Regions from separate parts of the Homo sapiens genome. Here all the other regions are linked to region 1. The links are contacts of gene promoters, found by promoter capture Hi-C in human tissues and cell types (Jung and others, 2019). All regions are on one chromosome and are shown on one strand. The core of a region is centred on a gene start or on the middle of the fragment in contact, and the rest is flanking DNA. Distances in the headings are between cores, read along the strand shown. Region 1 holds the start of GALNT1 (polypeptide N-acetylgalactosaminyltransferase 1). Region 2 holds the start of FHOD3 (formin homology 2 domain containing 3). Region 3 has its middle 16 kb from the start of MAPRE2.

Evidence for each region. Contacts are between HindIII fragments. The study calls those that stand out against the background at their distance.
Region 2: a contact is called between the fragment with the promoter of FHOD3 here and the fragment with the promoter of GALNT1 in region 1, in 1 of the 25 tissues and cell types used here (mesenchymal stem cells).
Region 3: a fragment that was not itself captured here is called in contact with the fragment with the promoter of GALNT1 in region 1 in 1 of the 25 tissues and cell types used here (hippocampus).

What each region holds. Positions count from the first base shown.
Region 1 is chr18:35,579,474-35,584,026 of GRCh38, forward strand. GALNT1 (polypeptide N-acetylgalactosaminyltransferase 1) reads left to right here and starts at 2,267. Exons shown (of 12, transcript NM_020474.4): 1 at 2,267-2,389. RefSeq lists a silencer at 1,309-2,008. The HindIII fragment of the contact is 13,517 bases long and covers 1-4,553 here.
Region 2 is chr18:36,295,066-36,299,618 of GRCh38, forward strand. FHOD3 (formin homology 2 domain containing 3) reads left to right here and starts at 2,648. Exons shown (of 29, transcript NM_001281740.3): 1 at 2,648-2,935. The coding sequence starts at 2,771. RefSeq lists an enhancer at 1,494-2,471 and silencers at 2,411-2,700, 2,821-2,890. The HindIII fragment of the contact is 5,975 bases long and covers 1-4,553 here.
Region 3 is chr18:35,023,594-35,028,146 of GRCh38, forward strand. It overlaps a transcript of MAPRE2 not described here. Among named protein-coding and RNA genes, the nearest start is that of MAPRE2, 16 kb to the right of the region's middle. The HindIII fragment of the contact is 4,027 bases long and covers 676-4,553 here.

The DNA of each region.
Region 1 (4,553 bases), core at 1,017-3,516:
TGCTCCTAGGCTACAGACCTGTACAGCATGGGACTGTACTGAATACCGCAGGCAATTGTTAACACAATGGTATTTGTGTATCTAAACACAGAAAAGGTAACCCATTGCCCAACGACATTATGAAGGCTACCTCACTTGGTGATAGTAACTTTTCAGCTGCATATAATCTTATGGGACCACCATTGTACAGGTGACCCATCATTGACCGGGGCATGGCTGTAAATAGATCCTACAATACAGGCTCTTACACATCTAGCTTCTTCCACTTAGCTTATCGTTTTTGAGGTTCCTCTATGTTGTATCTTCTATGACTACTTCGTTCCTTTTACTGAGTAGTAGTCCACTGTATGGCATATACTGCATTTTATCCACGCAGCAGTTTCTGGACATTTGGACTGTTTCTACTTCTTGGCTATCATGAATAACACTGTTATTAATATTCATGTACAAGTTACTGTATGAATTTATCTTCAGTTCTCTCAGGCATACGCCTAGGAGTGGAATTGTTGGGTGATAGAATACTTCATGTGTAACTTTTTAAAAAACCTGGAAAACTGTTTTCCAAAGTGGCTGCACCATTTTACATTTCCATAGGCAACGTATGAGGGTTCTAATTTCTCCATCTCTTCACCAACACTGCTATTGTCTGTCTGTCTTTTGTACTACAGCCAGTGTAGTGGGTGTCAAGAACTTCCTTGTTGTGCTTCTAATTTGCATTTCCCTATTAACTAATGATGTTGAACACCTTTTTATGTAATTGTTGATCATTTAAATATCTTTGGTAAAACGTCTATTCAATTGTTTTGCCCATTTAAAATTGGACTATTAGTCTTATTACTGAGTTGTAAGAGTTCTTCATACATTCTGGCTACAAGTCCTTTAACAGATATATGATTTGCCAATCTTTTCTCCCAAGATAAGAGTATTTTTTAACGATGACAACTTTATTCCAAAGTGAAGTTTCCTTGTGGAACAGTAACAGGCTAGTCATGATTGACTTTGTTTCAAAATATTATATAAGTACTTTTAAAATAGTAACTTTTAACTTTTATTTTAGAATACTTGGAAGATGTAGACAAGCAAAAACAGGATACTAAAATTCCAGAGATAATCTTCAGGTTTTTTTTTTTTTTTTTCGGACAGCCTTTTGGTTATGTGAGAGGTAATATAAATTTAAAAGTGGGACCACTTAAATATTAAGTAATCTCTTATTGCAGCTCTTGGTTGGCAAGCAATAAGACACAAACCTCTGAATTATTTAAGTAGAAAATTAATTTATTAAAAGAATGGTTGGTTATGCCTCGCGTGAGTGACAGAGCCAGGGTTTTGTCTTCTATCTTCAGGGCAGGGTACAGCTGGGTATTGGAATTGTACCAAGCAGTGTTTCCCAAGGGGGCACAGAGGGAGGGCCCCTCTCCGGGCACTGTGCGGGAGCCACTTCCCCAAACAGTCCCCGTTCTGCAAGGGCCCCGGCGTTGCTGCCCCCGAGACCCGGGTGCCTGCCCCGGCGGTGCGGGTCGCGGGCCTCCGCTCTCGCCGTCCTCCCTCAGTCCCGGGCCTCCTGCATCGCGGTCGCCAGGCGCAGGCTCAGCGCGGCTGACAGCGCTCCAGCTCCCGCGCTCGCGGCCGCCTCAGGCAGCCGACCGGGTTGGGGCGGCCCCGCGCTCGGCCCGGGAGCCGATCCGCTGTGAGGGCTCCTCCATCTCCTCCCACCCCGTGACCTGCTCGACGCGCAACAGCCCGAGTTGTCTTTAACTTGCTGCGGCAGCCTCTTTGTCCCGACCCAGGGTCGGGGGCACCTCTCGGCCTGGCCCGGCCCTGCCCGTAGCCGTGTGAGCGGGGGCCGGGACTGGGCGGTCGGTCCGGGAGGGGCGCCGCGCCCGACCCCGGAGTCCCGAGCCCGAGGGGAGCGTCGCGGCCCCGCGGTGGGCTCGCCGCAGCGGAGGGGGCGCGCATCCGGGTGAGCGCCGGCGCCCCCGCCTCCCCCGCGCAGCCGCACGGGCCGCCGCCGCCGCTGCCGCCGAGCACGCAGCGCAGGGAGGACCGCGCCCGAGCGCCTGCGGGCGCCCTGCGGCGCCCGCCGCGCGACGAGCCCCAAGTGAGCGGGCAGGCGGCGCGCATGCGGGGCGGCCCGGAGTAGCGCCGCCCGAGCCCGCGAGCGGGGCGCCCGGAGTAGCCGCCGACCCGAGCCGGGCGCGGAGGCGGGGGCGGGCGCGGCGGAGCGGGGCCCGGCCGGACCCGCCCGCCCGCCGGGGGAGCCGCCGGCAGTGGCCGAGGAGCGCGCGGCGGACGGCGGCCCGAGAGTAGCGCGCTGGCCGCGGGACCGGCCGCGACCGCCGCGGCCGGCCCGGAGGACGCCTGCCGCCGCCGCCGCCGCGCGCCTAGCGAGGTGAGTGTATCGCCCGCGGCTGGGCAGTCCCGGAGCCGCAGCGCTGCGCGCGGGTCGGAGGTGGAGAAAGAGGCCCCGCCGCGGCCGCGTCCCCGGTCCCTTTGTGGCCGGCGCTGCCTGGGGCCGGGGCGCGGGCACGCTCGGCGCGGGTTCGGGTCTGGGACCCCGGTGCCGTTGGACACGCGGCGTCTCTGGTTGGCAGCTTTGGCGAGCAGCGAGTTTCCGTCCTAGTTTGACATTGAGTTAGAACCGTTTTTCTTTAGAAGACGGAAGTTTGTTTTATTGACAAAAATAAAGCTAAATATGGCTTCTGGGTTCGGCCGTGTGGTACTTGCAACCGCGGTGCCAGCCTGACCCTCGCGGCGCCACGGGGGAGGGGAAGACACGCCGGCAGCGGGGGAGGGGGCTTCCCGGCCCGCTGCCCCCGAGGAGGACCCGGACCTAAATTAGCAAATGTTTGTGGTTGGGAAGTAGCGGGCTTTAGGTAATGTAGTAGCTTTTCCGCTTTTCCTGGAAGAATGAATGAATGAGATGTCATTTACTCATCCATAATCAATACGTTGCCCATTTAAGCATTTACCAGGAATTGGGATGATTTGCATTGTCATTGCTTCTCTTATCTGGTCAGCCTTGCTAGATGAGGTTCCCTTACTCCCCAGATTTGTGACCTTGTCCTCATTCTCAAAGCCACTGAGCTAACCAACCCGTCTACCAAACTCACTTGGCATTTTTTTGGTCAAGTGGGCAATAGGCAAAGTAGTCTTTCTGAACTGTTTCTGGAGGGCAGAGAATGTCACTTTGATCATATCTTATGTTTAATACATTGCTTTATAATCGTGTCAAGAACGCTGAGAGTTAGGAGGTCTTGTCATTTCACAGATGAAATAGTGAAGGCCCTAAGAAGTTGCAACTTTTCAGGTCACAATCTGAGCAGCAGAGTTGGGATTCAAACCTAGACCTTGTTAGTCCAGTCCTCTTTACATCACATCTGTGTCCAGACCTGGACTGTCCAGCGTGGGAGCCACTAACCACATGTGACTATTAAAATTAAATTTTAAAAATTCAGCTCCTCGGTCACAGTAGCCACATTTCAAGTGTTCCATAGCTAAATGTGGTTCTTTGCTACAGTTGAACAGCCCTGGTCTAAATTATACATACATTTGTTGTGTCAGTAAATATTTACTGAATGCGATCTGTCTATGAGGCACAGTTTTAAGTTCTGGGTACATGGTGAATAAGGGAGACACAATGTCCTTGCCCTATTGGAATTGACATTTTACATGATCCTTTGAGGATGTTTCCATGGTACTCCGAGTCCTGCTATTCCAAGTGTGGATGGTGTACCAGCAGCATCCCTGTCACCTCAGACTCAAGTAATGCAGAATGTGAAGCCCCGCTGCACATCAACTGAATCAGTATCTGCTTTACCAGGATTTCAAGTTATTTGTGTGCACTTTGAAACCTGAGAAGCCTTTGTTCAGCGTGCTGGTGATAACTGCGTTTAATGACTGCTCTGCTGGTTTGTTTGGTGCCTCTTAAGCAGCAGACTGCAAAACTCTTGGGAGCACTCACCATTTATGCAAATACTTGTTAAATGCCTGGCTTTCTCAATAGAGTTTAAGCTTTATGAGAGCAGAGATTGTGGCTTCCTTTTCCAGCCATGTATCACTGAAGACTTTACAGTGCCTGGTAAGCAATAAGCACTTGGTATAAATGCTTGTTGGATAAACGAATGAGTGTGCTAGGATACTTAAGCGTGGTTGTTAGCTGGGTGTGGTGGCATGCGTCTGTAGTCCTAGCTATTCCAGAGTGACAGCGCGAGACCCTGTCTCAAAAAACTGAAAACCCAACAACAACAAAACTGATTGTTAATCCCAAGCAGTTACAGGCAAGGTAATTCTCATGACATCAGGTGAGAGAGCATGGGACCAGAGTCAAAATGAAGATAGATCTGTTTGTAACTTTCAGTGGGACGCTCCAGCTACTCTGACTGGAGTTTTGCTCCTGGCTCACTTGCATGCCCTATCCCTCTTTTAACTAATATAATAATAATTTTGAATCTGAATCACACATTAGTGCTTCATATAGTTTTTAAAAAATTTTGTATTTTTTTAGGTAGCTAAATTCCAGACATTATTTGGATTTCACCAGTTTTTCCGTTAAT
Region 2 (4,553 bases), core at 1,398-3,897, 720 kb after region 1:
AGAAAAGGTGATGAGGATGCTAAGAAATGAATATGGCTCTCTCTCAGAAGTTGGTTAGGAAGTGATGATGAGATAAGCCAGGGAGCTAGAGTGAGAAGTGGGCTTCATAAAGATGCAGCTTTTAAGATGGAAAACACTTGAGTATTTATTCTCATTAGGATTGAGTACATAACTTATGGGGCCCAGTGCACAACTAAAATGCCGGGACTCCTTAAAAAAGTATTTAAAAAATTCAAGACAACAACAGCTAAACATTAAACCAATTTGGGACCCTTTAAAGTGCAGAGCCCTGTGTGGCTTCAAGAGTTGCACATCAGGAAGCAGGCCCTGGTTCTCAGGGTAAGGGGCCAGGGGAGGAAGGTGGAAGTGAGTGGATCAGTGATAGAGCCCCAGGCAAGAGCAAGTGGGATGAAAGGGACCCAGGGTCCAGGTGGGGGCAGAGCCTTGAATGGGAGGAAAAGTATGACTTTGGTCACCTTCTGAGAAGTGGGAGATGGAAGATGGAGAGGAGATGGAAAATAAGATGAAAGATGAAGAGGAGAGGGTGCTAGAAGTCATTCTGGAGAAATTATTTACCTTATTGACTAATTTCTGAGTCGAGGAAAGGGGCAGAAGCTTGCAGCAGCATCAGTGGAGTAAGAGGCTGAGGGGCTTTGGGGTGGAAGTGGGGCACTGAGTGGTCCCACTAGCAGCAGGCACTTGGTAGATGGGGCAGAAGCAAGCCAGGTACCCAAAGGACAGGTGGGACTGAAGGAGGGGTGTGGAGAGGAGGCCCCTGAGAGGATGGGCTGGGATCCGGGTTGGAAAAGTGATAGGAAATGAGGTGGCCAGGACTGGAGGGCTCTCTCAGTGAGGAGGGAGGTGGACGTGAAGGTGGAAGTGCAGGCGGCCCATCTCAGAGGGGAAGAATTCGTGCGTTTAGTATTCTGGCTGTGAGGAGATGCGGAAGTTGGTGGAGATCCAGTCTAGATCAGGGGTCCCTAACCCCGCGGCCGCAGACCGGTACTGGTCCGTAGCCTGTTAGGAACCGGGCCACACAGCAGGTGAGCGGCCAGTGAGCGAGCATTACCGCCTGAGCTCCGCCTCCTGTCAGATCAGCGGAGGCATTAGATTCTCATGCCAGAGAGAGCCCTATTCTGAACTGCGCATGCGAGGGATCTAGGTAGCGCGCTCGTATGAGAATCTAATTCTTGATGATCTGAGGTGGAACAGTTTCATTCTGAAACCATCTGCCCTTCCTCCCCCAAACGCCCCCCACCCCCACCCCACCACTGTCCGTGGAAAAATCGTCTTCCACAAAACCGGTCCCTGGTGCCAAAAAGATTGGGGACGGCTAATCTAGAGGATTCATTCAAAGAGTTAAATAACAAAGAAAGTAGAGCTAGAAGTTCGTCTGGAAGGAGCGGAAGTGTCGTGGAATTATTATTTTAAGATCAGGCATAAGTGTGTATGTGTGGCAGGGAGGGAGATCACGGAGAGGGAGAGGTTAAAGATGTGGGTGAGGCTGCTAAATAGGGATAAGGGTTTCTTTTCCCTTGAAACCAGAGGAAAGGGAGATAGACGCGTTATAGAGTCGCCTTGAAAACACTCGGATGTTAAGAGAGACTGGGTGTTATGAGGGCGATCTATATAAGGGGGGAGGAACCAGGAACTTGGCTGTGGCCTGGGAATAGGGAGAACCGTGAATTTTTCTTGAAAACGAAGGGGGTCGCCCGTGAGCAGCGAGGAGAGCGGTGGGAGGCAGCGCCGAGTCTTGCCGCTCCCGCCTGGCAGGGGCGGGCAGGACGCAAACCTTCCTTCCCAGTCCCTCGGTTACCAGGGCATCCCCGGCTCTCTGCAATTCGGGAACCTTGCCAGAAGGGCTCCCACCTCCCCAAGCCCCCGCGGCCCCACAAGGTCCAATTAGGGCTTTCGGCGGCCTAACTGGGGAGAGGCCGTGGTGATGCAGAGGTTTAACCAGCATCCGCCGGGAGCCCCGGGGTCCAGGCCCGGCGCTGGAGTCCCGCAGCGAAGCCTCGCAGCCCCCACGCCTCTCGACTCTAGGCTTGTGCCCTAAAAGCGGCCTGGGTTCCCTGGCGCACCCTCCTCTTTCTTAGCTTCTTTGTCCCTAAGGGAAACCTCCCCGTACCCTTAGGTGGGGCTCCCGGTCACTGCCACCACCCCTCTTGCTGCCGAAGCCGGCTCCCTGGCCACCTGGTGCCCTGCCGGGGTATTCCAAATCTGGGCAGCAGAAGCCGGCCGCCGCCGCCTTCATCTGGAAAGGCTTAAGCCTTCTCCGGGTGGGGAAGAAGTCAGAAGGCCGCCTGTCTCCCCGTCCCCCAACCCCCCAACTCCCCAACTCGGTCCTCCAGGCTCCGAGGGGTGCAGCTCGGCCCTGGGCCGCGGGGCGCACGTGCAGCAGAGTCCGGCCGCCCGGCCTCCCCGCCCCGCCTCCGCCGCCGGCCTTTGGCGCAGGGCTGCGGATGCCGCGCGAGCCGTCTCCTTTGCACTTTCCCGGCTGCGGTCCGGTCGTTCGGGGCAGCCCGGCCGGGGGTAGAGGACCCGGAGGAGGGGAGGAGCCGGAGGGAGAGGGGAAGGAGGGGGCCCGCCGGCCCCGCCCCCGCCCCGCCCCCCGCGGCCGGAGCCCGGGCTGCAGCCCGGCGCGCCTGAGCCTGCGAGTCCGCGAGCCAGCGAGCTGCGGCTGCGGCCTCCCCTGCGCGCAGCTACCCGGGCGTCCCGGCCCGCGGCCCCGCTAACCCCGGGGCCCGCGCCCCCGCGGCAGGGATGCATCATGGCCACGCTGGCTTGCCGGGTGCAGTTCTTGGACGACACGGACCCTTTCAACAGCACCAACTTCCCCGAGCCCAGCCGGCCGCCGCTGTTCACGTTCCGCGAGGACCTCGCGCTCGGCACCCAGCTGGCGGGGGTCCATAGGCTGCTGCAGGCGCCGCACAAGGTACGACCCGGCGGGGTGGGCTGGGCCCCCTGGACTCAGCCCCCTGCCGCGGTGCGCGCCGGGGTGGGTCCCGGGGCTTCGTGGGCCCCCTGGGCTGGGCTGGGCGCGGCCCGGGGGGACCATCGCTCGAGGGCAAATCCCCCTCCCCGTTAGACAGAAGGGCTCGAGGCACCCGCTGGTTGGCGCAGGACCCTCCGGGGCGGGCGGGAAGGAACAGCTAGAGCCGGGGGCGGGCGTGGCAGAGCAGGTGCCGAGCCGGTCCGAGGCGGGATGGAGAAGGCTCCCCCGAGCCGCGCCGTTAGCTCGGCCGGGTGGGCGGGGTGGGGCTAGGACGCGGGCAGTCGGCCTCGGCACTCGGGCGGGCACCAAGCGGGGCGCGGGAAGAAGCGGAGCGCCGCGAGACTCAGGTCCCTTGGAGAGGAGAGCTCTGAGCGACGGCCGGGACAAAACCTCCCTCAGGCCTCTGGGGCCGCTGCGGGCGGCCACGCGACCCTCGCGACAAAGCACGCTTCCCGGCGACACCGCCTCCTCCTTCCCCCGGGGGCGCCGCCGGGGACGCCGGCCGCACACTGCGATAGCGCTCAGGGTATCCCCCTTTTCTTCTGAGAAGCAGGTGGCCTTGGGAACCTCGGAGGAGCAGTCGCTGTGGGAGGAGGGGCGGGGGCGCGGAGGGGCGGCGCGCTCACAAAGCCTCAGCTTGGCAGCCCGAAATGAGTGTCCCCTGGGAAGAATGGCTGCTCAGTCTACCCGTTAGAGAGGTTTTTTTTTTTTTATTTGTTATTTTTATTTAAATAAAACCTTTTGCAGGAGGATAGGCCTCTTGCAAAGCATTTGTTGCAAAGAGGTGGGTATTGAAAGCTAATCATTTCGTTACCTAGGAAAACCCTTACTCTCACTTAGACAGATTGAATGCAGCTTGCAAAATTACCTTCCCAGTATTTTTTCTGCCTAGGATTCATATCAAAGCTTGGAGATGATTTATTTCTTGAGGGTCGACATTAACACATATTTGGAAGAGATAAGCGTTGATGCCCAAAAGAACAAAATTGATTTAAAAAAAAACCTCGGATTTCTGTATGATGTTGACCTGCTTTGCAAGTAGAGGAGGAGGTTGGTTGTGTGAGGAAACTGGTGGACTTTAGCAGTGGTAGTTTCCTCTCTATTAATGTATCAGTGCTTTCCTCCTCTACTTAGTTAGTAACGTTTTCAGGAATAAGGAATGGGGCATTTCCATCTCATTCTCTCCTGGTTGGTTCAGGACGGATACAGTCGTGGAAACCTCTCTGGCCACAAAAGCACATTTGATTGGGAGACAGAGGGTCGTCATCATCCAGAGTGATGTATTCTGGATTCAGCTGATCAGAATCACTTTTGTAAATTATTTGGTTCTTCTCAATTAGTTGATTCAGTGAAAAGTTTTCAAAGAGCTTCTTCTACATCATGATTATTCAGGCCACTACGGTCTCTGATTACAGTGATCTTTTGTTGAAACCACCAAAGGCTCATAATTGTGGCCCTGTGACCTTGAAGTGGTTTCCTTGGATTTCAAACCTTATATACATGGGTTGACCTTTCAAGCTGGGAGCTGCAGTATGTTTTCATGTTTCCATGGAACAGC
Region 3 (4,553 bases), core at 1,439-3,938, 560 kb before region 1:
AGAGATTCTTGGAAGTTATTGCAGTTGTCTACATTTCAGGTAACATGAATCTGTTGGAAATGAAAGATTGAGAGAGGCAATTGGAGAAGAATTGGTAAGATTTGGTGGTCCAGTAGATGTTCTGAAGAGGACAGGTTAAAAAATGAATATGAAGCAAAGATGAATAATATTTTTAGATTCATTAAAGAGATAATTGAAACTGAAGCCACTGACTAAATGATGCCCAGGATAATTCTTAATTTTTTTATTTACTGATGCCTTGCTGTTTTTCACTGAGTACTATGTCTCCAGGATAGCTGAGGAATCAAAATATAACCATTTTACTATATTGTCAAATATTGTCAAGTATGTACCGTAATAAGAATATGACAACCTAAATTTGTTTTTTATTTAATCACAAATGTCAAATATACTACCATAAAGAACCACCGTAGGGCACAGTAAAAAATAAGTTAAATAACATAATTTTTTGGTCATAATGTTCATATAAACAAAGCGTTGATGCTTCAGGCTAACAGTGTATGCTGGCTCTATCAGACACCTTTCAATGATTTGGTTTGTAGCAGGGGGAAAGTGCCCAAGTGTTATTGCATTAGAAGCACTCAGAGTTCTGGAGCTATCTTGTTCTGGTACCATGAGCTGGGATTTTTAGCAACTTTCAGGTCTTTGTCCTCGTTCCTAAAGGTTTTTAAACTCCTAACTTGAAACTAGGAGGAATAGAGATTTTCTCCAACCCCTCTGTAAATGATGAACTCTGTGTCCCTCTCCCTTTTATTCATGCTCTGACAGCATCCTTGACTCATGAAGTATCTTTTGCAATAGTTGCTGAAAGCCTTTTGACTATAAATGCTGTTTTCTTCAGAATGAAGTAGAACAAAGCATTTTATGCAAATGAACCTATTTCAGTTCTATTGATAACGATATAACTTGCTTTTATTCAGTAAATGAAGAAGAGAATCTGAAGATGAATAAAATTTACTACGAGTATCTGCAGATCAGGATCTGAAAGTTAATTTAACCTTCATTTCCCATTTTGGAGAGAATTATAATCATGCAAAAATTTGGTTCTTACATTTGCCTGGCTGATATTCAAGGGGAATTTAGAAATAGACCTTTTCAGTAAATTTAGTATTGTCCTTTATATCATAGACAATGTTAAGGATGGCAACATCTCTCATTGCTATAGGACATTCTCTTTTGTCAGATAAACTAGTGCTAACCTCTGAGGGGACTGATTCTTTAATTCGTTGCTGCTTGTTTTCTTTCTCCATGTTGTGAGTAGCTATTAATACAATGATGAATTTGCTTGGAGGGTGAGTGAGAAAAATATAAAAAAATACAGGTTAACTATAAATTTTAGAATTATATAATTGGGAAACACTAGAGGGTTATTCTGAAGTCTTTTTAGTGAAATCCAGCTTCTCACCTTGATTAGTACTAGCAAAGCCATATTTCTACTCTTGATCAAATGTGTCCTTTATAGAGTATTTGTACAAAGCATGACATAAGCATGGATTTGCAGCTGTTTCATAACCACTGTGAAGTTTCTTGGCTCTGCTCCACAGCACTGTGTCCAAGTTTCAGGAACTCTTCTCAAGTACTGTGAATGTGGAAGGAGGCCACTTGTGGAATGATTTACTTTACCCAGAGTTGAGTGTTTTGCGTGCAGAATGTGAAGCTGCTGTTCAGCCTGTTGTGTCCAAATGTAAGTGACTGGCCAAAGAAACTTTTTTTGGAGCTTGTCATCCAGCCTCAAAACTTACCCTCTGTGGATCTTTGCATGTTCTAACCATCAATAGGAAATAGCAATGCTATAACTTTTCATTTCTTCCAGCCAATAATCCCCTATGAATTTTTTAGCTGATATTTTAATGAGCTTAAAACATTGTGATTCTGACTTTAATGATGTACTCGATTGTAATTAAAGCAGTTATAAAGATGAGACAGTCGTGGCTGAATGTTCCCAACTCTATGTGCTCTTCACCCTAGGAGGACAGGGACTCAGAGGTAACAACTCGGATACTGTTAACATTTACATCATCAGAATTCATTTCACTAAATTGCCGTCCTCTCTGTAGTTTTTTAATAAAGCAAGCTGAAGTTATTTTCAAACAGTAGCTTAGAAGTCTAGCAGTTCCACTGAACATAGTCCAGTGGAATAATCAGATGTAGTAATAGATTCTTCCAAGAGCATTTATGAAGGATTCCAAATAGGAATGTTTACAGGTTCTTCTCTTTGTTTACCAAGTACAGAGGAAGCTTTGCTTATGCTGATACCAGGTGGCAAAACTAACATTCCAGGTTAGGCCGAAACCAAATTCAATCTTACTCTTTCTATACACGGTGGGGCATAAGTTTCTAAAGGTAGTTAGGTTTTACAGTGCCAAAAGAAAAACTTAGAATTTTTGTCTTGAAATGATAGGGAACCCCTGAAGACTTCTAAAAATGAAAGGAGGGAAGATAGAGCTGGTGGTGAGATGTGAATTGATTGTGAAGCAAGGAAACCTCTCTAGAGAGACTCATGAGGTAGGTGAGAGGAAGGAGCGTGTCTGAAGCAGGGTGTGAGCAGCGGGAGAGGAATGGGCAGGACATACCTGTCCCCCTGTGAAATGAACAGGTATGATGTCTGAATCAGACAGATGGGTAGAGAGGGAAAAACATTCTGAGGATTCAAAGCTAAGTGCTGGCTATCAGTTTAGCTCAAGCAGGAGATCTGGAGAGGGAGCCAAGTAGGAGAGAAGCTTCCTCATTAAATGTACTGTGTATTGTCTAAACCAATGGCCGCAACCTAATTTCTGTGCATGCCTCTGACCTGCTTATTCAGCAAGTGAGAGAATGCAGCGATGAATATGGACACCACACCACAGTCTCACATTTTTACAAGGTGCTTTTGGAAACCTGAATGGAGATTTGACTTTTTTTTTTTAGTTGCTTCCATGGCAACCCTCCCCATGAAAACAGGCGCAGTCTGCAGAGGCCTGTTCTTTTCTGTTGATGTTTGTCACTACCACATGGGGTCAGGTTTGTTCTTTCTCCCTCCCCAAAAATATTTGCTAGCTCTGTGGAAAAACTGCTGTTGCCCTAAACAGTTTACCTGCATCTGTACCCCGCTGTTCCTGTGCCAAGGTGACTAGGGACCTTCTGTGTGGCTTTGGCATCCCTCAGTTTCCAGATATAAAGCAGAGGACAGGTTCCCTCTACTCTCAAATTCCCATGGGCATGGCTGGGGATAGGAGAGCAGGCAGAGTCCCTCTTCAAGGACACTCACCAGCTCCTAACCCAACATCTCTAACCAGTCATGTAGTCTTGTGGCTTATAGTACGAACTTTAGTTTCTGAATCTTTGAAAGATCTTAAGCTTTTGATACTTGAAAATGAGACTCTGAGGCTCATAAACATTTCTTCAGGGTTTTTTCTCTGCCATGGGCTTACAAGTTGATTTTGAAACTCCGAAGTTGAACATTCATTCTTTTCTTCCTCTCTTGCATTCCTGCCCCATGCTGAAAACTCAGCGAGTAAAGAAGGTTCAGCAGGTGTGTGTGGCAGGTTTTCCAAAGTGGGTTACTACAATCTCTCCCATCCCACAGGTTTTCTTGCAGTGTGAGATTGACATTCCTCCTAGTTATGTTACCAGTGGTGTTGATAGCCCTTCCTCTTGAATCTGGGTGGAACTTTGTGGCAGCCCTGACCAGCAAAATACAATGGAAGTGATGCTCTGTGACTTCCAAGACTAGGTTTTAAAACTGCCATGCCCTTCTGCCTGCTCATTAGGGATGCTTGTGCTAGGAACCCAGCCACCATGCTGTGAGGAGCCCAGGCCACATGGGGAAGCCTTGCATAGGTGTTCCAACCAGAGCCCCAGCTGAGGCCCCAATTAAAAGGCAACGTCAGCCACCAGTCATGAGACTGAGGAAGCCTTTATGAAGACTTCAGCAGTCAGTCACCTTCCAACCATAGCTACATGAGAGACCATGGGTGACAACCACCTAGCCAAGCCCAGTCAACCTCCAGAATGACAAGAGATAATAATAAAATGATTATTGCTATTTTAATCCACCAAGTTTAGAGTCACAATAGAGAACCAACAGGGTTTTTCTGTTATCTGTTAATGCATAACAGCCTACCACAAAACTTATTAACTTAAAATAACCATTTGTCCTACATTATGGTTTTGTGGACCAGGAGTTCAGGAAGGTCTTGGTTAGGTGGGTCCTTTCTAATCCATATATCCATATAGTGTCAGCTGTGGTGGGTGAAGATGCAGGATGCTTCCTCAGTCACATATTTGGAGCCTTGGTACTCTTTGTGGTCTCTCCTCTCTTCCCCTCCCTCTCCATGTGTCCCACCCTCTGGGCCTCTCTACATGGTTGGTACTTCCCCCAGAGTAGCTAGACTTCTCACAGGGCAGCAGACCTGCCTTCTTACAGAGCAGCATGGTAGTCCCAGGGTAGCTGAACTTCTCACAGGGCAGCTGACCTTTAAGAGACAAAGGCAAAAGCTGCCTGTCATTGTAAGGTCTAGGTCAAGAACTGGTCGGCATCATTTCTACCAAAA